Regions from separate parts of the Homo sapiens genome. Here region 1 is linked to region 2. The links are contacts of gene promoters, found by promoter capture Hi-C in blood cells and fetal thymus (Javierre and others, 2016). All regions are on one chromosome and are shown on one strand. Each heading gives the region's core, a stretch centred on a gene start or on the middle of the fragment in contact. The rest is flanking DNA. Distances are from core to core; before and after follow the strand shown.

Region 1 (3,678 bases), core at 156-2,655, 870 kb after region 2:
CAGCAATGGTTGTTCAGGTCTTTCTCACATTACATCACTCTGATCCCCAGTCTTCTGGCTCCCTCTTCTACATTATAAGAACTCTTGTGATTACATTAGGCACAACCAGATAATTCAGAATAATCTCTTTATTTTATGGTGACTTATTAGGAACCTTAATTTCCCCTTGCCACGTAACAACATATTCACAAATTCTGGGGATTTGGATGTGGACATACTTTGGGAGAGGGGAGCAGAGAGTATGTTATTTTTGCTACCACAGTGGTTAAGCTTGAAGTAAAAAATCCTACAATATTTAGTTCTCAGAGACTCTTTGAAGCCTATCATTCTATCCTCACATTTTACAAGTGAGATAAGGAAGAGAGCTTCAATGACTTACTCCAAATCACACAGCCAGTAAGTGGTTACTTACTGGCTAGTAAGTGGCTAGTAAAGGCTACTACCCAGGTCTCCCAATCCTTAACCTTTCTTTTTTATTTTTTTAAATATATATTTTCTATTTTTTATTTTGTTAAAGATGGGCTCTCGCTATATTGCCCAGGCTGGTCTTGAACCCCTGGGCTCAAGCGATCCTCCTACTTGGTGTCCCAAAGTGCTGGGGTTACAGGCGTGAGCCACCGTGCCTGGCCCCAATTCGTACCTTTCCATTATATCATTCTACCTCTAACTCTGACTAGTGTTTATTGCCCTTTTCATCTACAGTACATTTGATAGCTTGTAGTCTGTACATTCATTGTTAACTTTATAAACTGATAAGGAATAACAACTAAGGATTTATAATTTTCAAGTCTAAAGATAGTATCTTTATTACTGTGCCTTATTCCTAAATTTAACTGTAACTAGCCTGGACACGCATGCCTATTCTTTAGTATCACTTCAGAAATAAAACTGCTTCAATAACTAAGCCCTTTTAGATGGCATCCAAGCCCAACTTACTTTATATATTACATTACTGTGTGCCAGACACTGCTAATTCAATCAATGAATAACCTTTTTTTTCATTTCTAATTTCAGTCAGCTATGAATAGTAAGTCGTATGTAGTAATAATTTTTAAAAATCATTAGCTCATACAGCATGGCAAACAATTGAAATTATTTAATACTCACTTATATTTTTCTCATCATCCTCTTCCTTCTTGAACACTCATCTCTAAAGTTACACATTACAAAGATACAAGGAATCAACCCTGGTCTTATGGGATATAAAGTCAAAGATTTTCCAAAGACAGATTTCCACAACAAAACAACAATGTGTGAATATTTTTAGACGTTAGGCTCATAGGCCTTTGTTAATCATGTTTTCATTAGTAAACCTTATTTTTTATGACCTGTATCACCCATTTTTTTAATTATTCATTCAAGAAATATTTATTGAATTTATACTATGTGCCAGGCACTTCCTGATGTGCAGAGGATACAGCAGTGAAAACACAGACAAAAATCCCTGCCTCATGAAGTTTACATTCTAGTAAGACAGTATCAGTAGAAATAAGTTAATTACATAGTAAGTTAGGTAAAAGCTAAGGAGAAAAATTAAACATGTAAGGAGGGATGGGAATAGGAAGTTTAGATTACTGGCTTCAGAAAGCCTCACTGAAAAGGTTATTTAGAGTAAAGACCTAAAGGAGGAAAGAAAACAAGTCATAATCTGAGGGAAGAGCATTCCAGGCAGAAGGAATAGTGTACTCAAAGGCCGTATTCAGTGAAGAACATGGAGTCCAGTATGGATGAAGAAGAAAAAAAGAGTCAGGAGACAGCAATCAGTGATTAAAGGACATTGAGTCATACTTTGGATGAGATGAAAAGCTAGTGGAGGATTTGAGCAGGGGAGTGACATAATCTTATTTTGATTATAATAGGATCTCTCCAAGGGCTATATGAGAATAAATAGCATGAAGGGGAAGGCAAATACAGAAGCAGGGACACAAATTCAGAGTCAATCCCAACAATCTAGGCAAGAAATGATGGTAGCTTGAAAGCAGTGAAGTGGAGAGAAAGCATCTTTCTATTATATTTTTGGGGTAGAGTTGACAGGATTAGTGGAAGTTGACCTCTATGAAAACGCAGAAGATTGTATGCAGAGAAAGTTGGGTGGGAGAGGGCTGTATCAGGAGCACAGAGTGGAATTGGGAGGGTTGAGGTACCTACTAGATATCAAATTGAGGAGGTGAAGAAAATAGATACAAGAGTTTGGATCTCAAAGGAGAGGTCCAACCCGGAGATATAAATTTCAGAGTCATCAGTGTATCAATGGTATTTAAAGCCATGAGGCTGGATGAGATCACTGAGGGTCTGACCTCCTAGGGCACTACAACATTTAAAGGATAAATTTTTAATAAAATTGACTTCCTGTCTCTCTTCAAGTCTCTCTGCAGTCCTAAAACTTGCTTTGAGACGTGCTTAATACAAACCTATGTTTATATTTCCATAGCAATAGACTCTGATGTCAACTAAAACTCTGTGTTATCTTTTTACATGCTGCCAATTAAAAGTGATGGCTTGAGAGATAAGACTCGTGTTCACCCAAGCATCTAAGCTTAATCCTGCCAAATCAGGAAATGAGTGCCTAATTTTCAAAAGGTTTAATTGGATAGTGGAATAAGTGAATTTAGAAGCTTTTAGATCCAAAGCGGATGAAGCATTGGACCTAGATTACTTAAAAAAAAAAAGTTATGGCCAGGCATAGTGGTGGCTCAAGCCTATAATCCCAGCACTTTGGGAAGCCAAGCGGGTGGATCGCTTGAGCTCAGGAGTTAAGACTAGCCTGGGCAACATGGCAAAACCCGGTCTCCGCAAAAAATACACAAATTAGCTGGGCGTAGTGGTGTGAGCCTGTAGTCCCAGCTACTGGGGGGCTGAGGTGGGAGGATCGCTGGAGACCCAGAGGTTGAGGCTACAGTGAGCCTCGATTGTACACTGTACTTCAGCCTGGACAACAGAGTGAGACCCTGTTAAACATAAAAAAATAAAAGAGAGTTATACTGTACCTATCAAAGTTTGTATTTGTTTGACATAATAGAGTACTTTGTAACTGGGACACAGGTTACAGAGTCAAGAAGCCTCTTGGCTTGTCATATTTAGAACAGAGAAATCTCTTTTACAGTCACATTTTCAAAAACTAAAAAAGGAATATTGATCCAAAAAGTATCATGCTTTCCCAGTATTCGAGGAATATAATATCCTTCATTATTCTTTCTGCTTCTTAAATTGGTCTGAAAAGTTGCTTATCAGTTACCAATCATTTATTAAATTAGTATTTTGTTAAACATAGTTGTGTCAACTGTATTCCCTAATATCAAAAGTAATCATTCATGGGAAATTTGGTATGTCCCTTTAATGAAAATATACATTAAAAAATTATGGCTGGGTGCAGTGGCTCATGCCTGTAATCCCAGCACTTTGGGAGGCCGATGTGGGAGGATTGTTTGAACCCAGGAGTTTAAGACCAGCCTAGGTAACAGGGTGATGAGACTCTGTCTCTTAAAAAAAAAAAAAATTGCATATGACAAAGAAAGAGCACCTACTGTGTACTATTACAAAGCAGTCCCTTTAGCAATCCATTCCTTTGCCAGCTCTCTGTGCCTTAGGCTTTTCATGTCTGTAACCTAAGGAGAACAAAGTAAGGTGGACTTTGTGATGAGTTTTGCTCTAGTATTTTGATGACTTGTTTATAATGCT
Region 2 (3,477 bases), core at 515-3,014:
TCACATCTGAAACAAAGTCTTAGGTAGTGAACACTGACTGCAGGCACCAGGGGGCCTCCCAGGAATAACTTGATAGTAAAGGAAAAGGTAAATAAGAGTTCCTGGTAAAACTTTTGCTTCCTATTCAGTCTTAAGACTGCTGGATGGCTTTCACATCTGGAGCAAATACACAGTATTTAGTTACAGAACAGGTACTCACAGAACTTGGGTTTGAGATACCGACACATACTTTGAGAAAAAGGAATTACCCCTCCCCCATTACAATATTCTTTGATGATTTTCCAAATATAAGTACATACTGCTTCACTCTAGCAATTATCTTAAGGTAATTTGAAAGCAAACAGTACATATGCAATCGCTGGACGGCGGCTAACAAAGAGGCCTCTAAATTGTTTAAAAAGGATTAAAGGCTTTTCTACACACTCACAAAACAATTATTGATGACGAAAACTTTAGGGTAGAGGGACTGTTTGGCAGAAGACTGCATTTAACTTTGAATAATATCCTGCAATGAATCAATACATTTAACTCCCGGCTAGTCCACCTCTTCGTTTTCCCCCCTTGCCTTCCCACCAACATAAAACTATTCAATAAGAACACTTGAGCCCGGAAAGTTCAAATGCTGCGTAGACCTACAAATACCTTTCGAATACAAGACAGGCTTTAAAAATAGATTTTCACTAAGTTTGTGCAGAAATTAAGCTCTGCTCAAATCAAATGCAAAAGCCAATCCCTTCAGCAAACCCATCTACATACATCACATTTCTTAGGTGCATCTTCAACCTGATCAAATATCTTGTCTTACAATTTTTTTAGGCCAAGTAACAAACGGTAGATTAATTCCCGCTAATTTTATCCTCTCTTTAAGAAGAATCCATTCTATATAGCATTGTGTAAAAATGCAGAGCAGACGAAGCAGTCCTGTTAAGGACAGGTTTATATATATATACGTAAAATTCACTCCCGGAACGACAATCGGAGGCAGCCAAGGGCAATGCACAAAGAGAACAGAGAAGAACAGTGATTCCACGGACGCACAAAGCCCAGTGGCAGGCATCCTCTCCCCATCCTCGGGTCACCGGAGGCGAGCACCACGGCGCGCGGAGCCCGGCGGCCTTTCCGAAAGGCTGTCTCCCGCAGACCCGCTCCGCACAGCCTTCGGCCGGCGGGCCTGGCCCCCGAGGGTCCGCGGGAACGGCCCCCTCTCCCCCGATCTCCCCTGACCGCGCTCCCAGAGGCCGCTCCCCCGCGCCCAGAGCCTCCTCGCCCCCTCCTCGGTTCGTCCGCCGCGCCGCGCTCCCAGAGACTCGTCTCGGGGCGGGAAAGGGGTCCCCTCGCGTTCCGGCGGCAGACGGGGACGCAGGGGTCGGCGGCGGTGCCCGACCTCCCTCTGTCCCGCGGCCAGGCGCGCACTCACCCTCCAGCAGCCGGGTGATGAGGCTGTCCACGTTCAGCTCCCCGTCCGCCATCTTGTCGGCACAGACTCTCCTTCCCAGCAGCGGGAACAAGGGCTTCTCGGCGGCGGAGGCTGCGGCGACGGCTCGGCGTTCTCTCACCTACAAGTCACGCGGCGTTTCGACCCCGGCTCCAACTCCCCCTTTTCCCGGGCCCTCCCCCCACCCCCTCCCCGCCGGGTAGCGAGAGCGCGCGCACACTCGGAGGCACCCACGGAAAATAAATAAATAAACAAGAGAGGCCCCCTCGAACAGGGCCGCGTCAGACCCAGGCCGCCACCTCCTCCTCCTCGGCACCGCCCAGCTCCGCAAAGCTCACCAGCGCCGCCGACGGCCCCACCCGCAGCGCCACTCACTCCGCACGTCCCTTGCGCGCCGCCGCGTCACGCAGCTCTCCGCGCAGGCGCGCGGTGCGCTCCCCGCCGAGGCTCCCCTCGACGCCTGGGCCGCCGCGCAACCGCACTGGAGCGGCTTCTCCCGCTGCCGTCTTCGCGCAGGTGCGTCGCCCTCTCTCCACGTCCACGGCGCCGAGTCTCGCCACGGTGGCGCAGGCGCCAGGGAGGTTCCCCGGCTTTGCCGCGCGGAGGAAGTCCCGGTTACGCAGAGCGCGCTGGGGCAGGGCTGACCTTCCCCTTTCTCTACTTCACTGGCCTCCTCCAGACGTGGTGGTTGCGCCCTTTCGGCCTCGCTTTCCGTTTTTTGGCTTCATCCCCTAGATCTGCAAACAGTTCCTCGTGTTTCTTCCGTTAGCCGGGAAACGCGAACTGCAGCGTTTGGGACCCGGGTTTGCGCGTGTGGAAAGCAAAAGGGGTTACTCTGCTGGAGTTCGACATTGCAAATAAAGGTCTTTATCCCCGGCGGTTCTACAAAATTAGTTCTGCAGGGATTCTGGTTGAAAGAAGCGTTAAAGTGGGCCTTGTAGGAGTCAGCAATAATCCAATTTTACATGGGTGCAGGTGGCTGCCTGTGTCTAGCGCTTTCACACATCTCATATCTTCATCCACGCCGTGGGTATTTTTTTTCCACGGTGTGTTTCTGTTGCTGCCTCCAGTATATTGCTTAATCATCCTACCTGGTAATTATTTATGCATTTTTCTCCTACTCTCGACTCAGCTCCTAGGGAATAAAAACACATTAACTTATCTTTGTGCCCACAGCACCCACCAAGTATTTCCATCACGTAATACTGCCTCTAGAAAGGCAGGAGGAGAAGCAGTCACGCTAAGGATCTAGGCAAGCCAGATCTTTTGTCCGGTTTTAGGAGGTGGCCAGCCCTTACTTATTCCACAAGTGTTTTTCCAGAAACTCAGACTTGATATTGCCTCAAGTCCAAGGCAGTGTGCTTCCCCCACTCACATATCACTAATAGTAGCTAACATTTGTTCAGATCCCTGTATGTACTCTGCCACTGTTTTAAATGTTACACCCGGGTTACCTCATTTAATCCTTACAACTGCCCTGTGAGGTAGGTACTATTATTATCTCTACTTTGTAGATGGGATTCACCGAGGCACAGACGGTTAAAAAACCTAGCCCAAATAACACAAATAAACAGCAGAGCATGCAGTGCTAGAGTCTGCATTCTTAACAATTGCTATATTCTCCCTCTCCGTGAATGTGGGCTGAGATGCTGAAACAGGCATGTGCTGTGGGGGAGAAAAAGCTTTGTCCAACCAAGTGCTTTCTAATGTCCAGATGACATAGAGCTAGGATTTCCTAATGTCTTTTTTCCCCTATTTTTCTCTCCATTTCAGGGTTGAGTTTGTGCATCGATTGTGAACACAACAGGCAGCAGGCTATAATGGTGGTCCTGGCTGGAGTAGTTTTCACAGACTTCAGTAATCTGTGGAGATGAACGGGCAGTTCTCTGTAGTTTTCACAGATCACTGCCAGTTCGTTTTGAGGCCTTCAGGAGTGAAGACCTGGCTCATCATCACTCTTTGTTGTTTTGTTAAATTTATTTACACCCTACTTTATTCCAGAGGAAAGGATTTAACGTAGTTTACATAAATGTGTACATCAG

What was found. The method cuts DNA at HindIII sites, captures the fragments that hold promoters and counts their contacts. A CHiCAGO score of 5 or more calls a contact.
Region 1: a contact is called between a fragment that was not itself captured here and the fragment with the promoter of PPP1CB in region 2, in 1 of 17 cell types (total B cells). The highest score is 5.3, in total B cells.

The regions. Positions count from the first base shown.
Region 1 is chr2:27,883,544-27,887,221 of GRCh38, reverse strand. The region is part of intron 1 of RBKS (ribokinase); the gene reads left to right. Among named protein-coding and RNA genes, the nearest start is that of RBKS, 5.0 kb to the left of the region's middle. The HindIII fragment of the contact is 2,266 bases long and covers 273-2,538 here.
Region 2 is chr2:28,750,117-28,753,593 of GRCh38, reverse strand. It overlaps PPP1CB (protein phosphatase 1 catalytic subunit beta), which reads right to left and starts at 1,764. Exons shown (of 8, transcript NM_002709.3): 1 at 1,418-1,764. The coding sequence starts at 1,469. PPP1CB-DT (PPP1CB divergent transcript) reads left to right here and starts at 1,838. Exons shown (of 5, transcript XR_007086259.1): 1 at 1,838-1,951; 2 at 3,209-3,477. RefSeq lists silencers at 1,112-1,331, 1,822-2,011 and enhancers at 1,194-1,838, 2,142-2,351. The HindIII fragment of the contact is 5,134 bases long and covers 1-3,119 here.